Regions from separate parts of the Homo sapiens genome. Here regions 2, 3 and 4 are each linked to region 1. The links are contacts of gene promoters, found by promoter capture Hi-C in human tissues and cell types (Jung and others, 2019). All regions are on one chromosome and are shown on one strand. Each heading gives the region's core, a stretch centred on a gene start or on the middle of the fragment in contact. The rest is flanking DNA. Distances are from core to core; before and after follow the strand shown.

The links. The method cuts DNA at HindIII sites, captures the fragments that hold promoters and counts their contacts. A contact is called where the count stands out against the background at its distance.
Region 2: a fragment that was not itself captured here is called in contact with the fragment with the promoter of FAM133B in region 1 in 1 of the 25 tissues and cell types used here (pancreas).
Region 3: a fragment that was not itself captured here is called in contact with the fragment with the promoter of FAM133B in region 1 in 1 of the 25 tissues and cell types used here (IMR-90 fibroblasts).
Region 4: a fragment that was not itself captured here is called in contact with the fragment with the promoter of FAM133B in region 1 in 1 of the 25 tissues and cell types used here (aorta).

What each region holds. Positions count from the first base shown.
Region 1 is chr7:92,587,783-92,593,317 of GRCh38, forward strand. FAM133B (family with sequence similarity 133 member B) reads right to left here and starts at 2,608. Exons shown (of 11, transcript NM_152789.4): 1 at 2,486-2,608. The coding sequence starts at 2,509. It overlaps LOC105375397 (a long non-coding RNA gene), which reads right to left. Exons shown (of 3, transcript XR_927744.3): 3 at 4,238-4,366. RefSeq lists enhancers at 2,336-2,395, 2,486-2,765. The HindIII fragment of the contact is 9,030 bases long and covers 1,294-5,535 here.
Region 2 is chr7:92,121,786-92,127,320 of GRCh38, forward strand. It overlaps CYP51A1 (cytochrome P450 family 51 subfamily A member 1), which reads right to left. Exons shown (of 10, transcript NM_000786.4): 5 at 4,468-4,642; 6 at 1,949-2,068; 7 at 1,335-1,530. Among named protein-coding and RNA genes, the nearest start is that of CYP51A1, 9.9 kb to the right of the region's middle. The HindIII fragment of the contact is 6,060 bases long and covers 1-5,237 here.
Region 3 is chr7:92,978,070-92,983,604 of GRCh38, forward strand. No RefSeq gene overlaps it. Among named protein-coding and RNA genes, the nearest start is that of SAMD9, 140 kb to the right of the region's middle. The HindIII fragment of the contact is 5,699 bases long and covers 1-5,535 here.
Region 4 is chr7:92,942,190-92,947,724 of GRCh38, forward strand. No RefSeq gene overlaps it. Among named protein-coding and RNA genes, the nearest start is that of CDK6, 110 kb to the left of the region's middle. The HindIII fragment of the contact is 7,796 bases long and covers 1-5,535 here.

The sequences.
Region 1 (5,535 bases), core at 1,358-3,857:
CTAAGAGTGAGCACTAATGTAAACTACTGACTGGATGATAGTAACATGTCAATGTAGGTTCATCAATTTTAACAAATGTACCACTCTGGTGAAGGATGTTCATAATGGGGAGGCTATGCACGAGTGGGGTCAGGAGGTAAACGGGATATCTTTGTACCTTCCTCTCAATTTTGCTGTAAAACTAAAAATGCTTAAAAAAAAAAGTCTTAAAAAGAAAATCAAGAGTTAAGATGTACAGAATTGAGTGTCAGATGACTGAAGTTTTGGTCCCAGTTTAAAGTCTTACCCCTCCTCTATGCAATGAGGAGACTGAATTAGACAATCCGTGTCTTCTACCTCTTAATTTCTTGTTCTTAATCCCAATCTTTGAAGTGCACACAAAATGTTACCAGAATACTCTGTGCCATAGCTGCATACCAAAAGTAGTAAGTAGAGCCCAGAGCTATCAAAATGTTCTAGTAAATGAAGCTAATTTGGTAAGTTTTTCAAATGTTTTAGAGGAATGTTTCAACCAAAACGTTTTTTCAGTAATATGAAACATTTTAGGTCTGTATATGAAACTGCATCCAAGGTCAGGTGATCTCTAAACATTCAAGGCCCAAGGGTATTAGAAGAGCCCAAAATACTCAAACACCTAAGGATGCTCCTATGCTGAAATGGTGTTATGCTACATAATTTCAACGCCATGACAATCAAGATAGCACAACAAAGTCTCACCTACAGCCAGGAGAAAGAACAACCCGCTATCTTGTAATCAAGATTCACTACCACAGTGGTTCCTAGACATTTTCCATTATAAAGACTATACAGAACTACAAAGTTTTTAAGATGGTGAAATGGTTTGGATCTGTGTCCCCGCCCAAATCTCATGTCGAATTGTAATCCCCAATGTTGGAGGTGGGGCCTGGTGGGAGGTGACTGGATCATGGGGGCGGAGTTCTCATGAATGGCTTAGCATCCTCCTCTCCCCAGCACTGCATAGAGATGATTTCTCAACAGATGCGGTTGTTTAAAACTGTGTAGCAACTCTCCCCGTCCCTCTCTTGGTCCCGCTCCTGCCATGTAAGACGCCTGCTCCTGCTTTGCCTTCCACCATGAGTAACAGCTCCCTGAGGCCTCCCCAGAAGCAGATGCCGCTAAGCTTCCTGTACAGCCCATAGAACCGTGAGCCAATTAAACACTTTTCTTTATAAATTACCCAGCCTCAGGTTTTTCTTTATAAAAGCCATGCAAGAACTGGCTACTACAGATGGCAAGTGTCATCATTTCGTAAATGTTAAGTCTCCTTTGGTGTGAGACACACACAGCTTGCAAATAATTGTTGAATAAAAAAGCGAGTTCAAGAAACGTAGCACATTCGTTTTACGTGCATTTTCCTCATTTTGCTACTCAGTGGCTAAAACTTTGTCACAGGCAAGCCCAGAAATTGTCAGGCTGCAACCTAAGCTTATTGTTATTTCATTATGTTTACTACTCATTCAATCTGATTCATAACCTGAGTTTTTCAGCCCCCTCCCCGCCCCAGCGGTCTAGAATACTTTCCTCCCATCTCCGCTTCTCAAAAGCACCTTTTCTTTTGAATGCCTTTAGAATCTCTAACAACTATCAAGGACCATTTCCTACTCTTTCTGCTGTAAGTTATTTATGCATCTCTTTTATCTCATTCACTAGAGTAATAATTTTCATGCCCAGTACTCGCTCACACATCTTGCCTTTTGTGATTTCAATTAATCTGTAAGGTTGTAGATAATAATGATCCCCTTTTATAAACGACGGCACAGAGAAGAAAAGTAACTTGTTCTAGGTCACCCAACTTCCGACGGAACAAAACTGACATTCCAGTTTTGTGTTGGACTCGAAAGCCAACTATTTTCACGCCATTCATTCCCTCACAGTGTCTATGGGGGCCAGGTCCTACAGGGCGCTGGAGACACGAAAGCAAATGCTGCCATCCCATTTTCAAACGGGAGCCTGCTTGTCGCTAAAACCAGGCGCGCTGCTGGCTCTCCGGCACAGGGACCGCGTCGAGGCCTCTGTGCCTCCCTCCCACTTGGGTGCGCAGGAGAGGGGTGCGGACCTGGGGCGGCCGATACCAAGGGGCGGGTGAGTCGGATGCGTCCAAGGGCCTAAGTCTTCGGAGTTACATGGCGGGGCCAGGTGTGGGGGGGGTTCCCCGAGCCCTCGCGGTTCTAAGTGGGCACTGGGGGCCCGCGTACAGCAGGCAAGAGTGCAAACCAGCAGCGCCAGAAAGAGCGACGAGGTGAGGGAAGAAAAAAGGGGCGGGCAAGAGAGAGCTGGGAACCCTAAAGCGCCAACTGCGTGCGCGGCGCACGCGCATCTGGGATCGGCGGAGGGTGCTGGGTCTCCAGGCCCCACGTCTGAGGGCTGCCGCTTGCCCTCCGGCCCGGCCGGGAACAGCGAGGGTTCTCGCTGTCCTGCCGCCGGGCCCTGCGTCGCCCCACTGTTTTCCCGGCTGAGTACTCACCACCCGATTGTCCCGCTTCCCCATGGTGCTGGATCGAGCGCACAGTAGCACGCCGAGGGAAACCGGGCCGGAGAGACTGCCGAAGAGGGCCTGCCGCAGGTCCTCTTGCCGCCTCCCCACTCCGCCTAGAGAGCGGCACCACGCGGACTCGACGGCCGCGCTCTGCTACAGCGCCCCCTATCTCTGTGGAGGACAGGCCGGCTCCAGAGATCGCTGCAGTTGGCGGAGCGCCTGCAGGAGTCCGGTCGTTCATTAGGCACCCAAGAGCAGGCGACGCTGCGCTTCTGCACCGGAGCCCCACCAAGGCAGCTCGCTTCAGTTTGGCCTTGGATTGTTTTGCTTTCTTCCATTCTTTTTTTTTTTTTTTTTTTTTTTTTTTTTTTTAGACAGACTCTCGCTCCGTCGCCCAGGCTGGAGTGCAGTGGCACGATCTAGGCTCACTGCAGCCTCCACCTCCCGGGTTCAAGCGATTTTCCTGCCTCAGCATCCCGAGTAGCTGAGATTACAGGCGGCCGTCAACACGCCGGGCTAAATTTTTTGTATTTTTAGTAGAGACAGGGTTTTACCACGTTGGCCAGGCTGGTCTATAACTCCTGACCTCAAGTGATCCGCCCGCCTCGACCCAAAGTGCTGGGATTACAGGCATGAGCCACTGCGCTTGGCCTTTCTTCCATTCTTGATACACTGAAATACTCATTCGAGGGGACACAAAGATTCTCCCGATGCTTATTTTGTGCTTGACAGAGTGCAAGTGCTGGGGACAAAGTGAGGACCAAAGAGCCTTGGTCCCTCACGGAGCCCATCAGCTGGTGGGGGGAAAGGCAGTGCTGTCATAGACGCTGCTAACGAAATCACCCTTTAATTTCAATCCCATTCATTCATCACCTGTGCATTCATTTCACACTAATTTTTGAACATGTAGTTTGTACAGTTTTCACTAACTGGGTGGCTGGAAGCTGGAGCTGGGTAGGGCACAAAGATGATTAAGAAAAATCCCTATCGTCAAGGAGCCTGTTTATAAACTCGTAAGGGCAATAAACACACACAGGGCCAACTTTACTGCATAGCATATCGTAATATTGGCACTACTGCACTGCAACTTTAAGGAAGATGATCTGGGCTCCAGAGAAGATAATCATATTTAGTAAGTATTTATAGATAAAGCGACCCCTCTGGGTTCATCTTAGCAAGTATCATTAGGAAGTAGTTGAAAATCAATTAGGATCTTCTCCGGACTCTTGGAAATGGCAAAATGGGAATTACACTAATTACATACAAGAACATGCTTTAAAATCATCTTTCCCGATCTCTGCCTCCCTCCCTCCCTGCATTTTTCATGCTACACTATATGACAGATGCTCCCAACTACCATCTTCTGTCTCAAAACTTTTCCAAACTCTCACATGCAGTCCTTGGTGGTTCTGCTCCCTACTAAGTGTTGATTCTTCCTCAGTAACCCACTTTCCAAAATGAGGCCTCCAGTCTCTCATTTCTCCTCCTCCTCCATTACCCCCGACTTAAGCTGGGGACTCTGACTGAAGACAGGCTTCTTTTTATACACAAGAGGAAGAGGAGAACCTATTAATATTAAGTTATTCTTTCTTTCCTGGCTTATTTTTCATGTTTTAAATATTCTAGGCATTTGACAGATATTATTTTTAATACTCCAACATGATAAGCATGATAATACCTGTGAGAGAATATAGTTTTTTTTTTCCCTCTTCAGCTCCTTCTTACCTTTCACTTCCTTGGTTGGCTGATTGTACAGAACACAGAGATTTTTAAAAATATGGTATAAGTCAACAGAAAGGTTGTGTTTCCTTTAGAAGTCTCTCTCTCTCTGCGAGTGTACACAACCCCTCCTGGATGAAACGTGAATCCCTGGGGGGACAGAGAAACAAGAAAATGACCAGGGGCCTGTGAAGATAAGGAAGATGGCAAGAGCTATCGGGAGCTCATCTGAGTGGACTACATAAAGAACAAATCAGTCCAAGACTTCTCAGGATATAATTCAGTGACAGTAGAAATCTTTACACATTCTCTGCACATGTGTGATCTGCTAATAAATACATTTCTGTCCTAGCAGTGGGCCTACATGCCCTCCCGAATGTTCTAGGCATAACCAGGAGATTACATTCCATTTTGTGGATGAGAAAAACCGAGGCGAAGGGAAGCCGAGTAATTTGTGCCAGCTTCCACAGCAAGAAAGCAGAGAAGCTGGGGATTCAAACACAGGTGTGTCAAACATGAAAGCATTTACAAGATGCAGTCTCTATTAAATACACACATAGACACACAGGCACGCGTAGACACACACACACACACACACACACACACCCACCCACACCATGAAAGCATATGCTTTCCTTACAAAATCACACTGCCTTTGGGAGGGGAGAGAAGAGAGGGAGGATTGAGAAGTGGCATTTCAGGTGGATTGTGACCCTGGGCCAGCTTCCCTCAGAGGAACTGAGAGGGAAGGACATTACAGAGGGAATAGCCCGCGTAAAAGGAGTGGTGATGTGGTCAGGTTTGGCAGCATAGAACACTTATGATAGAAGGGAACAAGGCTGGAAAGGTACACTGGGCCTGGAGGCAAAGGACCTCGAATGCCAAAGGAAGAAGTTATATTTTATTCTGCAGGCAGAGCCTTTTTTTTTTTTTTTTTTTTTGAGATAGAGTTTTGCTCTGTTGCCCAGGCTGGAGTACAGTGGTGAGATCTCGGCTCACTGCAACCTCTGCCTCCTGGGTTCAAGCGATTCTCCTGCCTCAGCCTCCCAAATAGCTGGGATTACAGGCATGCACCACCACACCCAGCTAATTTTTGTATTTTTAGTAGAGACAGGGTTTCACTATGTTGGCCAGGCTGGTCTCGAACTCCTGACCTCAGATGATCCACCCTCCTCGGCTTCCCAAAGTGTTGGGATTACAGGCATGAGCCACCACACCCAGCTGTAGAGCCTTTTAAAAATTAATATTATTTTAATTGACAAATCACTGTATACATTTATGGAGTACAATATGATATTTTGTTATATGTATACAATGTG
Region 2 (5,535 bases), core at 958-3,457, 470 kb before region 1:
GAGATTAATGGTTGCCAGGGGCAGCAGTCAGGGAGAATGAAGCATGACTGCTAATGGGTACCAGCTCTCTTTTGGGAGTGATGTAAATGTTCTAAAATTAAATTATGATGATGGTTTCCCAACTCTTAATATGCTAAAAACCACAAAGTGTACATTTTAAATGGATGGATTTATGCTATGTAAATATATCAGTTAAGCTGTTATTTTAAGTTACTAAAAACAAGAATGAGTGTTGAGACATCACTACTGAGCTTACAGAAATAAAAAGGATTATGAGAATACTATGAACAATTGTATGCCAACAAATTAGGTAACCTAGATGAAATGGACAAATTCCTAGAGAGATATAAACTACTGAAACTGACATAAGAAGAAATGGAATATCTGAATAAACCTGTAACAAATAAATTGAATTAGTAAGTAAAGTCTTCTCAGAAAGAAAAGCACAGATCTAGATGATTTCACTGCTGAATTTTTGCAAATATGTAAAAAAGGATTAACACCAATCATCCACAAACTCTTCCAAAAATTAGAAGAAAAAAAGAATACTTCCAAATACATTCTATGAGATGAGTATGATCCTGATATCAAAACCAGTCAAAGACATCACAGTGAAACTAGAGATCAATATCCTTTATGAATATAGATGCAAAAATCCTCAACAAAACACCAGCAAGTTTATATGTAGTAACATATAGAAAGAACTATGCACCATGACAAAGTAGGATTTATCCCAGGAATACAATTAACATCTGAAAATCAGTGTAATGTGCCATATTAATATAGGACCAAAAGCACAAAAGATAACAGGAAGATGACATCACCAAGGTTTGCTTCCAAGATGGAATGTCAGGTTGTGCAGTGAGTTGTCCTCTCTTCCTTTCCACCCAGCAAGTTGCATGTAGTATTTGTAAATGTCTTGTCCTCATTACTACTACTACTACTACTTTTAGAAGTCTCTGCTCATGCCCAGGCCACTCTGGACATACAGAATTCTAAGTAATTCAGAGGCTTCTACACTTCATAAGACACACAACATGCACATAATATCCTCTATGTACAGAAGCCAGACTTTGAAGCAGAGGAAGTAAGTACCAAAGAAACATCCCCAAGGATCTCTAAGCCATCAACCCAAAACATATCTGATAAAGCTTAATGGCAAGAAGCAATAACATTAAGATATTTTAGGTAAGGTTATAGGGAATTTGCTAAAAATAGAGAAGCTGATCAATTTAAGCTATAGTATATAGAAAATCTCAAATTGTCCCTTTTAAAAATTAGCCACAGATCCTCAAAGTCATAAGGCAGCAATGAAACTGAAAAATCCAACAAACCTGGTCATAAGTTAAAGGAGGCAGATTCTCTCCACAGACTGTTTTCTGTTCTAAATAACATTTTTTTTGAAGTGTTTTGTCTCTGGCCAAAAAGAAGCCCATCCAAGCACTAGTAGTTGAGGATGTATGCTGCCCTGCCAAGAGTAATCCAATAAGCATCCCTGCTACTTCATCATCAGTCAAAGGACGCCCATCCCTAAGGAATGAACCAAAGACACAAATTTAACATTTTGGCAGATACATTTCATGCCTCAACCTTTAAATAAAGTGTCATAATGAATACATTTTTCAGGTATAGTGGTCTCTTATATTTGACTATCACAAGTCAAGAGTTTTTTTTCTCTTAGGGAAGAGACAGACCAGCACAAAACGATTTTGATTACAAAAGACTCCATTACAGTTCATTAGCAAACTTTTACCATACCCAGTCACTGGGATTACAGTAAGACACAGGATGCCAATAGTTTATGTCTCAACAATTTAAAGAGTCCAAAGATCACAGCTACCAACTTATTTTGCCAGCATCACTGTTTTTTAACTGGAAATACTATTTAACTGTGTTTTAATGTGTAATTTCCTGCTTCAGCTTAATATGTTATCTGAATAGCTCTTACTTGTATGTAGCATCTAGTAAAGTTTGGAGAATGTCATCAATTTTTTCTTGAGACTGTCTGCGTTTCTGGATTGCCTTATAGAAAATATCCTTGATTTCCCGATGAGCTCTGTCCCTGCGTCTGTAATTAAAAGATAAAGATGATTTTCTTAAATAAAGAAATAACCTTCTAGGATCAAATTCATTTTGAGAACCAGGACCGAGCATAAAGCATCTTATTTAACCAACTTTAATGACTCTAAAATAATTGACAAAAAAATCAGAACCAGGAACATACTGGAAGTCATGAAAATCTTACATTGTTAAAAATGTCCATAGTCCCTAAGGGCAAGAACTGTGCTTTATTTAACATATATATCCCAGATTCTTAACACATTGCCTGTGTTCAAACTAAAGGCCTAAAACAAGCAAGAAATTCCTTTAGAAGTATTTTCCAGTTCAACAGAAAGTAGGATACTCTTTTAAATTAACATAAAATTCCAATTTTAATACCAAATCAAGTCTTAAAGCAGAAGAGTCACTCTGGTTCTTCCATGGAATCTGGTTCTACTTTTCACTTTCTAATACAATAGTTTTTTGTAGGGGGTGAAAATACTAGCAGATTCAGAAAACAAGCTTCAACTCCTAAACTTTACCTTTAAATAGTATGTTCACTATGTAGCAGGTACCATGTTAAGTGTTTTACATGAATTACTCACTTTTATCTTCCTGTGAGGTACATACTATTAACCTCAAGTTATAGCTAGCTGCATAAGATCACACAGAAAGCAAACATTGGAGCTGGAATTTAAAACTAGGCAGTCTGACTCCCAAGCCCCCTCTTAAATCAAGCCTTCTAAAAAAAACTCCTACTCTGTTTCATTTACAAGACTGTTAATCTGTTATTGAGGATCAACTGAAACCATGTGTACAGAAGAGAAGATGTTGGGGCTTAACTGTATGAATACAGTCGAACCAGGAAAACATAGGCCTGTTTAAGAAAGTGAATTGAATAATCTGGTTAAATTAGTTGGTATGAGTAGAAGAAAGAAAGACTGGGCCAGAATGTGAAGGGCCTAACATAGCAAGCTCTGACTTCATCCAAGAGACAGAGCAGGTAGAAACAGGCAGGTAGAAATGTACATTTATGGGCCAGGTGCAGTGGCTCACGCCTGTAATCCCAGCACTATGGGAGGCCGAGGCGGGCGGATCACAAGGTCGGGAGATCAAGACCATCCTGGCTAACACGGTGAAACCCCATCTCTACTAAAAGTACAAAACAATTAGCCAGGCTTGGTGGCGGGTGCCTGTAGTCCCAGCTACTCGGGAGGCTGAGGCAGGAGAATGGCGTGAACCTGGGAAGCAGAGCTTGCAGTGAGCCGAGCTCATGCCACTGCACTCCAGCCTGGGCGAGAGAGCAAGACTCCATCACCAAAAAAAAAAAAAAAAAAAAGAAATGCACATTTATGGAGAACCCACTATGAGTCCAGGGCTGTGCTGGGTGTTCTAATATAAGATATATGAAAACATTTTGAAACTGCAAAGCTCCTTGCAAATATAAGGTATGATGAGTTCCAGAGAACTTTAGGGAATCTCTCCTGGCTCTTCCTTTTACTCCCACCCCTCTTCCAATCTGTAACTAGATAGAGGGGGCAGAAATAGAAGAAAAGGGACTAGCAATCTATCTCCTCCCCATCTGTCACCTAAACACCAATAAATCAACAAAAGTACAGAAAGCCTACTAATATGCAAAACACTAAGCACTAAGCTATAGATCAAGTCCTAAGAGCAATATTTCTTTATATCAGAGGCAGTCCCTGTCCTTAAGAAACAGAAAATTAAATAAAGGCACAAATATTTAAAACAAAGAAACTTCACAATACAATAAAAAGCCACCAAAGATTTCAAACAAGTGCTAGAGAAGAGCTGTATCACTTTTAGGTATAGTTCAGAGACTTTCCTGAGGATAAGGAATACGTGAGGTAAGCAGGCTTTTAAACTAGGCTGGGCTCAGTGGCTCACGCCTGTAATCCTAACACTTTGGGAGGCTGAGGCAGGTGGATCACCTGAGGTCAGGAGTTTGAAACCAGCCTGGCCAACATGATGAAACCCTGTCTCTACTAAAAATAGAAAAATTAGTTGGGCATGGTGGCACGTGCCTGTAGTCCCAGCTCTCAGGAGGATGAGGCAGGAGAATTGCTTGAACACAGGAGGCAGAGACTGCAGTGAGCCGAGATCACACCACTGCACTACAGCTGGGGCAACAGAGCAAGACTCCATCTCAAAAACAAAAACATAAATAAAATATTAGACTAGACAGACAACAAATCACCTTTTTAATAAACTGAAACTTACTTTAAATGAGCTCATTATATAAAGAAAATTTGTCTTGAATTCTTATAGAAGAAAGGGGATTCATAATCTTACCCATTTTGTATGTTTTACTTGTTTAATTTTTATCTTTGTTAAGGCAAAGCATACCAACACTACAATAATTATACAAAGTTAAATAACCTAGTGTAATATATTCTTTATCCATACCTGAAACTAGGCAAAGGCAGCCAACCTGGTAAGAGCCAGGCTGCATGGCTGAAACCTCCATCCAAATCTGCATACAGCTGTGCTACCTTTTCATTGAGTTGACTTCTGATTTCCTTTCCATGCAAACAATGGCTAGCTGTTAAAATTATGAGCTCAGAAAGAGCTTCAAACACATCTAGGGAGAAAAAAAAGATTATTCTCATTACTATTTCCAAAAAGTGAAAGAAAATTGAGAATTAAAAACAGAACTCAAGAAGAAACAAGATCCTATTCATATCATCAAAAAAAGTCTGTAGACAGACATGTGACTATGTACAACAACAAAGAGGGGCAATAAACCAAACAATGTGAAGCACCCTGTCCCTCTAAACAGCCAAAACAGATCCCAGAAACACATCTCAAAACCCCACTCATGAGCACTTCATCATGAAAAGAATAAATGTGGTTATTTGATTTCCAGGTCACAATAACAAAAGCAGAAAAAAGGTTATTTATAGTGCATATGACAATAATAAGGTACTTCCCAAGGAATAGTAGCCAAAGATCAGATTATTTCCCAGGTTAAAAGTAGGAAGATCAGGGCCAAAATGGAATTACTGGCGATATGTAAAAGAAAACTATAATCACCAATTAGTATATCCCAACACTGGAGACAAATGCACCAGGCAAGCATAATTTGATGACAACTAATAAAAATTATCCAATTAATTTCCTGTTAATTCCACATTCACTAAATGAACTTCCAATGATCATCTGGCTTTCCAATTATATTTGTCAATAAAAAGAATATCAGTAAATATTCTGGATTTCTTGGTGCTGTAATTATATGTCTCACATGCATTATTACATTGGCATTCTAATTTATACATCAGTTTCTTGTATGGTTAGAAAATATATCAATATCAACTTAAGTATACCAAAAACAAAGATTCTGGAACTCTTACAGAGGCCAAAGGCCAGACCCAGAATATAGTGACCTGCTGCCCTGGGTCCTGCTGCCCTGTGGGCAGATGTTGCTTCCTACTATGGGCACAGCAATTGCTTCTGAAGGCAATACTTAACTTGCAG
Region 3 (5,535 bases), core at 1,513-4,012, 390 kb after region 1:
TCTTTCTGCTTTCTTTAGGCTTGGTTTTCTCTTTTTCTAGTTTCTTAGAGTGGAAAGTTAGGTTATTGGTTTGAGATTTTTCTGCTTTTTAAAGATAGGCATTTACTGCTATATATTTCTCCCTAAGCATTGCTTTAGCTGCATTTCATAAGTTTTGGTATGTTGTGTTTTCATTTTAATTCATCTAAAAGTATTTTGTTTTTATTTTTTTGAGATAGGGTCTTGCTCTGTCACCCAGATTGGACCTCAGTGGTATGATCACAGCTCACTGAAGCCTCAACCTTTTCCCAGGCTCAAGTGATCCTCCTACCTCAGCCTTTCGAATAGCTGGGACTCTAGGCATGTACCACCATGCCCAGCTAATTTTTTTTTTTTTTTTTTTTTTTTTTTTTTTTTGTAGAGATGGGATCTCCTTATGTGACCCAGGCTGGTCTCAACCTCTTGGGCTCAAGTGATTCTCCTGTCTCACCCTCCCAAAGTGCTGGGATTACAGGTATGAGTCATCAGGCCTGGCCCTCAAAGTATTTTCCAATTGTCTTTTTGGTGTCTTCTTTGACGCATTCATTATTTAAGAGTATGTTGTTTAATTTCCACTTATTTGTGAAATTCTCAAATATCCTTCTTTTACTGATTTCTAATTTCAATCCATTGTGGTCAGAGATCATATTTTGTATTATTTCAATCCTTTTTAATGGCCTAGCACGTGACCTATCCTGGAGAATGTTCCATGTACACTTGAGAAGAATGTGTATTCTGTTGTGTGAAATGTTCTGTTAGGTCTAGTTAGTTTATGGTATTATTTAAGTGTTCTATTTTCTTGTTCATCTATTTAGTTCTATATATCATTGAAGTGGGACAGTGAACTCTCCAATTACTGAATTGTCCATTTCTCTCTGCAGTTCTGTCTGGTTTTGTTTCATGTTTTTTTAAAGCCTGTTATTAGGTGCAATTCATGTACATATAGGTTTATCATTGCCCTCTTGATGGATTGACCAATTTATCATTATAAAATGTCCTTCTTTATTTCTAATAATAAATTTTGGGTTAAATTGTAGTTTGTCTGATATTAGTATAGTCACTGCAGCTCTTTTTTTGGTTAAACTGTATGATATATTTTCCCCCATCCTTTTGCTTTCAACTTATTTGTGATTTTGGATCCAAAGCTCTTGTAGACAATATATAGCTGGATCATGTCTTTTAAAAATCCTGCCTGTCAATCTCTGCTTTTTGATTGGAGTGCTTAATCTATTAAATTTAATATATTTCTAATGTCAGTATTTGTGTCTGCTGTTTACTCTTGCTTTCTATATACCATTTTTTTGTTTTCATATTTCTCTATTAACACCTTATTTTGCATTAAATAGATATTTTCTAGTGTATCATTTTAATTCTCTTGTCCTTTATTTCACTGTCTTTTGGAGTTATTCCTTAGTGGTTGCCCTGGGGATTACAAATAACATCTTAAATAATTAATCTAGTACATATTAATATCAACTTAATCTCAGTAGTATACAAAAACTTGGCTTCTATATAGCTCTGTTCTCTCCTTTTTCTTTGGTGCTATTATTGTCATACAAATGACCTCTTTATATATTATATGTCCATTTATGCAGATTTATAATTATCATTTTATACAGTTTTCTTTTAAATCAGATAGAAAACAGAGTTAAAAATGAAAAAAATACATTTAAACTGTCTTTTATATTTATCCACTGTATTATTTGCTAGGCTGCCATAACAAAATACTCCAGACTAGGTGGTTTAAACAACAGGCATTATTTTCTCATATTTCTGGAGGCTAAAATCCAAGATCAGAGTGTCAGCAGGTTTGGTTTCTCCTGAGGCCCCTTTGGCTTGCAGATGGCTACCTTCTTTCCATGTCCTCATATGGCCTTTTCTTCATGTGTGTACATCCCTGGTGTCTCTCTCTCTCTTCTTATAAGGGCACCAGCTATGAGGGCGACCCCTCATCCATAATGATTGGATCATTTAATCTTAATGACTTCTTTAAAGGCCCTATCTTCAAATATAGTTACATTCTGAGGTGTACTGGGTGTTAGGACTTCAACACATAAATTTTGGGGTGCTACAATTTAGTCCATAACACTATTGATATAATTACCTTTATCAATGCTCTTTATTTCTTCAAATGGATTTGAGTTACTGTCTAATGTCCTTTAATTTTAACCTGAAGGACTCACAGTACTTCTTGTAATCCCATATTTCACAGTATTTCTTGAAAGACATGTTTGCTAGTGATGAGTTCTCTCTTTTAGTTTATGTGAGAATATCTTAATTTGTTCTTTACTTATAAAGGATAGATTTGCTAGATATAGAATTATTTTTTGATGTCCTTTTTCTTTTAATAATTTGTATACTTCATCCAACTGCATTCTGGCCTCCATGGTTTCTGATGAGAAATTGGTGGCAGATATTATTGAGGACCCCTTGTATGTGATGAGTCACTTCTTATTTGCTGATTTCAACAGTTGGTTGTGTCTAGGTGTGGCTATCTTTGAGTTTATCCTACTTGGAGTTTGCCAGGTTTCTTAGACATGTTGATTAATGTTTTTCATCAAAGTTGGGAAGTCAAAAAGCTTGGGCTATTATTTCTTCAAATATTTTTTCTCTCTCTCTCTCCTCCTTCTTGTAATCCCGTTATTCATATGCTGGTATTTACTGATATTCTCTATTCTGTGCAATGTAATTCGCATACTTTCCTTTAATTCTTTAGGTGTGGTTTCCTCTCATTCTTTGAATGTATTCAAAATACCTGATTTTAAATCTTTAATTAGTCCAACAGCTGTCTCAACATCATGTCCCAACATTCTTTAGGGACAGTTTTTGTTGGCTGCTTCTTTACCTGTGTATAAACTATAGCTGCCTTTTCCTTTGTATGTCTCCTGGTTTATTTGTTTTTTTTTTTTTTTTTTTTTTGGGAAACCAAGCACTTTACATAATGCAATTAGACAACTCTGGAAATCAGATTTCCCCTGCCCTAGAGTTTGTTGTTATCATCACAATTTGTTGTCTAGTGACTTTCCTGAAAAAAATCTTTAACGTGTAGATACTTTGTTATGTGATCACTGAAGTCTCTGCTTAGTTCACTTAGTGATCAAATAATAATTGGATAGACATTTTCTTAAATGATTGGAATCAATTCATTTCCAATCCTTTTTCAAGGGTCTCTGTGCATGTATGTTGGCAGGAAGTCTACAACTCTGCTGTAGCCTCACTTTCTGCTTGTGTAAAACCTCAAGGCTAGCTAGATGTAAGAGCTTCAGGCCTTCTCAGTTCTTTCCTGGGCATGCACAAAACCCTATGCAGGTGTGTGGCCTTCTGGATTACCAGAAATATGTCAGAGCTTTTCTAAACACCCAATGGCCATCTCCTTCTCCAGTTCTATCTCTTTTTTCTTTCTTATTTTTTCTTTCATTTTTTATTGTAATTAATTGACTACAGTGCTTATGTGCAGTTCCTTTTACCTTCAGTTGTGTAGACTCTGAAGCTACTTAGGCGAGCACCTTTTTTGCATGCTCATTTCAGTGAGGTTATGTCATGCATTTGTAATACAGTTAGATTCTCTATTCACAGTTTGTATTTTTTCCTGGAATTCCCCCAATCTCCTAAATGATTTTTTAAAATAATTTGTATATATTAAGGCTCATTCTTTGTACTGTAAAGTCACTTGGGATTTGACAAATGCATAATGTCATGTATCCACCATTACAGTATTATACAGAATAGTTTTCCCATCCTAAAATTTCTCTGTGTTTAATCTATTCATCCCTTACCACCCCACCCCCAAATCCCTGGAAACCATGACTTTTAAAACTGTCTTTATGTTTAAGTCTTTTCCAGAATGTTATATAATTGGAATCATACAAACGTAGACATTTCAGACTGGTTTCTTTCACTTAGGAATATGCACGTCTTCTCATGGGTGATAGCTTATTTCTTTTTTATTGCTGAATAACATTCTATTGTATGGTTATCCATTCACTTATCTATTCATCTTGGTTGTTTCCAGTGTTTTGTGATTATAAATAAAGCTGATGTAAACGTTCACGTGCAGGTTCTAGTGTGGACATAATTCTTCATATCATTGGGTAAATACCTAGGAGTGCTATTATTGGATCATATGGTAAGATGTAAGAAACTTCCAAACTGTCTTCCAAAGTAGCTACATCTTTTTGCATTCCCAGCAGCAATGAATGAGCATTCCTGTTGCTCTGCAACCTCATTAACATTTGGTATTGTCAGTTTATTGAATTTTAGCTATTCTAATATAATAAGTAGTGGCATTTTATTGTTTTAATACAGAATTTCCCAATAAAATGATGTTAAGTATCTTTTCAAGTGTTTATTTGCCATATATTTATCTTCCTTCTCAGCTGCTGCTTTTTTTTCTTTTCTTTTTTTTTTTTTTTTTTTTTTTTTTTTTTTTTTTTTTGCCACAACTGTTAGCACTGCCTCAGGCAGCTGCAATGTTAAATGATTGTTGCTGAATTGTTTGACAAATATGTTGTGGAAAAGGATGCTCACATTAAGTGAGGTTTCAGGTCAAATAAAGACAAGACCTCCTAATGGAGTTTCCAGGAAACTAACAGACCAACATAGATAATGACAATTCTCTGAGTATGGTGCTTTTGGAGAGATCAGATTCTATTCTGCTACCATCAATGGCTGCTAGGCTTCTGGTTTCACTATAATTGTGGGGATTTTGGTTTTTAAGGATATTGTGGAATCAGGGAGAGGGGCATGGGATTAAGCAAATTAAAATGCCACAGATACTGCTGTTCTTAAAAAGATTCAACGATTTTTCCTTGGATAAGCCCTCATTGGATTATTGCAAGACTTTGATTAATTTCTAGAGTCCTTAAAAGTTGATTTGGATACTTTGCCAATGTTTTTATTACTTTTATGGAAGGGCATATTTTCATAGGTCATTACTGCACCATTCTTGTTGATGCCCCTCTTCATTTATTACGCTTTATTTATATTTGTTGGCATCATTTTTCCATTGTCTCCTGACCTCCATAATTTCTGTGAGAAGTCAATTATTTTATGTTGTTCCTTTGGAGGTAGTGTGTCCTTTTCCTCTAGCTGCTTTTAATATTTTCTCAGTTTTTATGGTTTTCATCAGTTTAACTATTAGGTGTTTAAGTGTGGTTTCTTTGTATTGCTCCTCCTTGGGATTTACAGTGCTTCTTGAATCTGTGGCTTAATGTTTCCTGTCAGTTTTAGAAAATATTTAGCCATTATCTTAAAATATTGCTTCTGCTTCATACTCTTTCTTTTTTATTTTTCTTCTTTAATTATATATACATTATATCTTTTCAGCTTATTTCATACACAATTTTCTGTATTTTCCTTATTTAAATCCCTGTGATCTAGACATTTTCTGATTATCTTCCAGTTCGCTAGTCCTCTTTTCTGCTGTACTAAATTTGCAGTTAAATCTATTGTGTCCTTGATTTCAATTTTTGTACCTTTTCAATCTGTAATTTCCATGTGCTATTTTTTCTATTAGTT
Region 4 (5,535 bases), core at 2,187-4,686, 360 kb after region 1:
CAACTAAGATAGTTACTATCTTCTTAGATTTTGAACACAGGCCTTCAATGATAAGCAAATTGACAAGAAAGAACCAAGGATGACACTGTGGCATATCAGTAGATAGTGCAGGTTGACCTCAGCCTGATATTCAATCAGTACTCATTGGGTACCATCATCAGTCAGTTAAAATGTGTAGCTGTACCAAGCTCAAGACACTTTATCAGGAGATTTGTTGAAATACATTTCCACTTGTTCTACCACTTTTCTATTGCCTTAGTGACATTCAAGAAAGAGAAGGCAGCTCTTGGCATCCTGCTTTATTCCAGGTACAGTCAGTGAGGCCTTGGTGTTCCCAGGTGGCCTGGTGTTCACAACTAGGTCTTGGTTTTCTCTTGTTGGATGTAAACTTCACAGAACATGCCCCATCAAATAAGACCCACTCTGTGACCATGATGGATCAAGACAATGACTCTATAATCATGTTTGAACACAGACAAAACATTAACGTTGTCCATGTCTGATATGGTTTGGCTGTGTCCCCACCCAAATCTCTATCTTGAATTTTAGCTCCCATAATTCCCACGTGTTGTGGGAGGGACCTGGTGGGAGATAATTGAATCATGGGGGTGGTTTCCCTCAGACTGTTCTTGTGGTAGTGAATAACTCTCACAAGATCTGATGGTTTTATACAGGGAAACCCCTTTCACTTGACTCTCATTCTCTCTCCTGTCTGCTGCCATGTAAGATGTGACTTTCACCTTCCATCATGATTGTGAGGCCTCCCCAGCTGTGTGGAACTGTGAGTCAATTAAACTTCTTTCCTTTGTGAATTACCCCAGTCTCATGTATGTCTTTATTAGCAGCATGAGAACAGACTAATACAAAGTCACAAGTTATCAAACCTTTCCCTCTCCTGCCTAATGTAATGGACTGTTACTTCTTTGGCAATTACAGCTTTATCTTTGCTTTACTCTGCTTTTCCTATAGATAAGATTTATTGAGATACCTAATCATAGAATTGTCCCCACTGTCTGACAGAATCCAATCTAAAATGAACTTACCCATCCCTAGAGCCTCCCCAAAGAACTCAAGCCCAAATTTTATAATAGGTTATTTCTAACACCATCTTACTGGGTGCCTCATGGTTTCCCCATAATGAATGTTATCCCATGCAGCAATGCATAATAAACCTAACTTAATCAACTACAGTTGTGTTTTTGGTAGTCTTTGGCTGGAGGCGTTGATATCCTATCAGAAAAGAAGGAAACAGTGTCCTACACAAATGCATACACACACTCTGTCTCTTAACAGATTTATTATTTTCAGTTTGGCTCTGGGGGTTAGACAGGAGTCACAGTCACAGAACCCTATTAGTGTTTTCTCCAGTTAGGATCCATAGTGGCCCCTGGCTTTCCTAAAGGAGGAGATGGCCTTGTCTCCCTCTGCACGGGCACAGCTCTGTTCATGTTGATTTGAGCACTAATAGTGGAACCCAGGGCACAGTCTATACTATGCTGGCCCTGTGTCCTCAGCAGAAGTCTTCTGCTTGTGTTGTTGTCACCAAATCCAATGATGCTTTCAATGGCATAAGGAAACTACTTAGCTTGTGGTGACTGTGGTGTCTGGCTCTGGGAGAGCAATTCTTCTCTTGAGTTGTGGGCAAGCCTGGCTCATGGGCTGAGGCCAAGGGTGGGATAGAGATAAATGCTTTTCTCTTCTCTGCAGTACCCAGCTAGAACCAGAGTCGCTGAACCAGATCTAGCATTACAAATATTGTATTCATGTGTAGCTTGTATTCATTTAGTTTCAGGGAACATCAGTGTTTTCTTGGCACTGGATTCTATTTGCACTTAAAGCCTGTGATTTTTCTTTTTTGCTACCCGTTTACATACTAACTGTTGTCCCTTACAACAGACTTTATCTTTCCATTTAATTTAATAAATATTTATTCAGCAACAATCAAAGAGCTGTGAAATACAAAGATGAATGAAATATAACTTATCTAAAGAACTAGATAATCTAGAAAATGGGATGAGACATGTACATGAATAGCTGGGTGTTAATCTTTCAGCCAACAAATATTTATTAAGCAAATACTTGTTCAAAGAAGTTCAAAGGAGAATAATCTATTTATTGAGCACCTTCTATGTGTTAATACTGAATCAAGAACTTTTCCTTGGATAGCACCCTTAATTCTCAGAACAACGCTTTGAGATTGATGTTATCACTCAGTTTTGCAGAGGAGATAGCTGTGGCTGTGGTATAACTTGCCAAGATCCCAGGGCTAGTTACGTGTGAAAGCCTGGATTCAAACCCAGACACGGTGACTTTGGATCTGTGCCCTTAAAAAACACTTATCATTTGTGTTTTGTTATTCTTAGGGTTCACAGTTGTTTGGGATGTTGTTGATCTCTGAGAACCTCTGCTTTGGGGAAGCTTAGAAAAATTGTGATGCAAGTGGATGTTTTAGAAGGTGTTTGAATGATTTTTCTGTAGTTACTTCACCTAGGAGCACATGTGAACACACAGGCACCAGAGCAGACCCTGGCATCTGCAGCTATGACTGTACTCTCGTTGTTCTATGTATTCTGTACAGTCTTGGGAGGTTATTTTTAATGCAACATGCCAGAGTGGCATGTTGAAAGAGCCATAGTAACCAGCTAACAGTAACAGCAGGGCCTGCCAAGTAAAAGTTCCGTAAATCAGTCATAAACGCAGTTACAAAATCGGGCCCAGTGTCGTGTGCACGAGGGAGTGTCTCTGGAGAAGGCACAATTCATGCACAGTTTCATGGGATCTCCATGAAATTCCATGGGAGTAGAGAGCTCTGTGGCCATAAAAAAAAAAAAAAAAAAAAAAAAAAAAGGACAGAAAGCAAAAGAGGCTTTCTAATGGGAAACTTGCTCCCATGCCATCAGGTAACTCAGAAAAGCTAAGGAAAAGATGCTCAGAGTAATGAATGCTTTAGATACAAAGTGTCCTCTTGTCTCATGTTTTTAATACTTTTGGAATCATTCCTTTTCTGCTACCACAGCCCACATTCAGGCCTTAATGACTTGGTATACTGCAAAGCCTCATTGCTTTGATGTATCCTCCCTCAAATCCACCAAACGCAAAACAGTAATAATTATCCTAGGCAGAATTTTGAATATCTTACTTATCTTGTGAGAATTTTACAAGGCGCTCCCAAGCACTACCAACCCCCACGAAAAATTCATAATTTGAAACACTAGAGGCTTTCTCCTATGATAGACTTATAGAAAACTCTTTGAGGGAGCAAGATGCTTTACTTGGGATTTGGAAATTGTGAGGCTTTGGGGTAAGGACTTTCTTGTCAGGCAATAGGGACATCGCCAATGAGTACTAACAAATAATGTGTTGCATTTGAAAAGTCAGAGAAATCACCCTCACTGATTTGGCTCCCTGCTGTTACAGAAGATCTGGGCATAGGGAGCAGGTCATTCATGACTGACAGTATATTATACAAGTATAAAATACACCACAGGCAGGGAATTGGAGCATTGACAAACTTAATGCTCGATAAAAGAGTTAATCTGTGCTTACTGGAGTGGACTATGTTGCCTCTTCCCTTTGATGCCCCTTCTGATTTTACAAATAGCTGGCTCTCTCCTTGCTTACCTATTTGTTTAGAAATCACTATCCTCTTTGTAGAGGAGTGTTAGGTAGGGGAAGAAAAGGATGAGATAAACCCAAAGGGAAAACTTGGAGCAATGCCACCACCTGAAGAGCAATTTTCATTTAGATAAAACCCCTCTGCCTATATAACCTCGGTTATGACCTGGGAAGATATGATTTAGCTTACAACTTTACAGAAATATTGGTACTGGTAAAATGAGGTGTGGCTGTGTAACCCGAAGGACTAGAGATAAGTTTAAGTGGAAAGCTCTTTCCAATATGCTTGATGAGGACGCCTCCCTTGATTGGGAATTCCCCACTTCGGGTGTTCTCCCAGAATGAGATTCTTATTGAACAAAAGGGAGTTATGAGGCTGATTTTTCTCTGTTGACTATGAATGTTTTTATATTTCAGGAATTTTAATATTTTACACAGTTTTGTTTCTTATTGTGGTAATATATACATAATGCAAAATTAACCACCTTAGCCATCTTTAAGTGTTGCAACTCAGTGGCAATTAAATATATTCACAGTGTTGAACAACCATCAGCACTAGCCATTTCCAGAACTTTTTCATCATGCCAAATAGAAACTCTGTACCCCTTAAACAATAATTGCCCATTTCTCCTTTCCCTAGCCCTTGGTGACCTCTATTTTACTTTCTGTCTCTGTGAATTTTCCTATTCTATGTATCCCATATAAGTGGAATCACAGAATATTTGCCCTTTTGTGTCTGGCTTCTTTTGCTCAGCATGTCTTCAAAGTTCATCCATATTGTAGCTTGTATCAGAATTTCATTTCCTTTTAAGGCTGAATAATATTCCATTGTATGTAATATACCCATATTTCTTATCCATTGCTGGAGTTTTGGGTCATTTTCACCTTTTGACTATCATGTATAATGCTGCTATGAACATTGGTGCACACGTATCTGAGTCTGTCCTTTCCTTTCCTTTGGGTATATATCTAGCAGCGGAATTGCTAGGCCTTTTGACGATTCTATGTTAACTTTTTGAGAAACTTTGGAGACTTGTAAAGAGAGTATAAATCAAAGAGGCAGACTCATTTCAGAGTCTGAGCTGGAACCCAAATGAGGAGTATTAATAGGATTTAGTTAAAAAAAAAAAAGGACTGTTGACCCTGATGTGAATCGTTTGAGTGGAGCGGTGGAGAGAGAAACCAGGCATATTTAAGATGGAGGAATCCTGAGCATGCTTAAGTGTTGTGGGAGATATGAAAGGGAGGGGACAGTCAGCAGAGTGAGGTCTCCAAGAAGGCAGGAAAAGGAGTTGCCTTGGCCTGCTTTGAGAATCTACCTCTTTATAATGAGAGGCAAGGACAGCGTCAGGTGCAACCCAGTGTAACCAATCAAAGGTATTTACTGAGTTTGGCACTGTGCAGGAAGATAAAGTGAAACACTACTTGGATTTTACCATAAATGACACAGTGGAAAGGCTTGAACCTCGAACCAAAAGTAGGGTAGAAAATACTCAATGTCACAAGGGAAAGGTAAAAAGCAGGTGTTAGATCCTCAGCAGAAGGACAAGGTACTTTCAGCTGTAGAGGAGGACAAATAACGAGGAAAGCCTTTGCCGCAGTGTAAACTATTCTGGATGGGATTTGAGATCTGGATAGGCATTGACACCTGGCAAAGTGGGGGAAAGTTCATGCTACCCAAACTGTATTCTACCACATACTTAGGTATTATATGAAAAGTGGGAACAGTGGTCAAATTAATTTAGAAAGTGCTGTATCTAGGAAAACCATATTGTACAATGTAAGACATTTTTAAAAGCTAAAAGGGACACTGGTAATTATGCTGGGATAACAGGTATACATTGGGACTGTTCTAGGCCGACTGAGATGAGTGGTTATCTATACCACTTCTATACCATATTTTACCTTTGAAGATTTAAA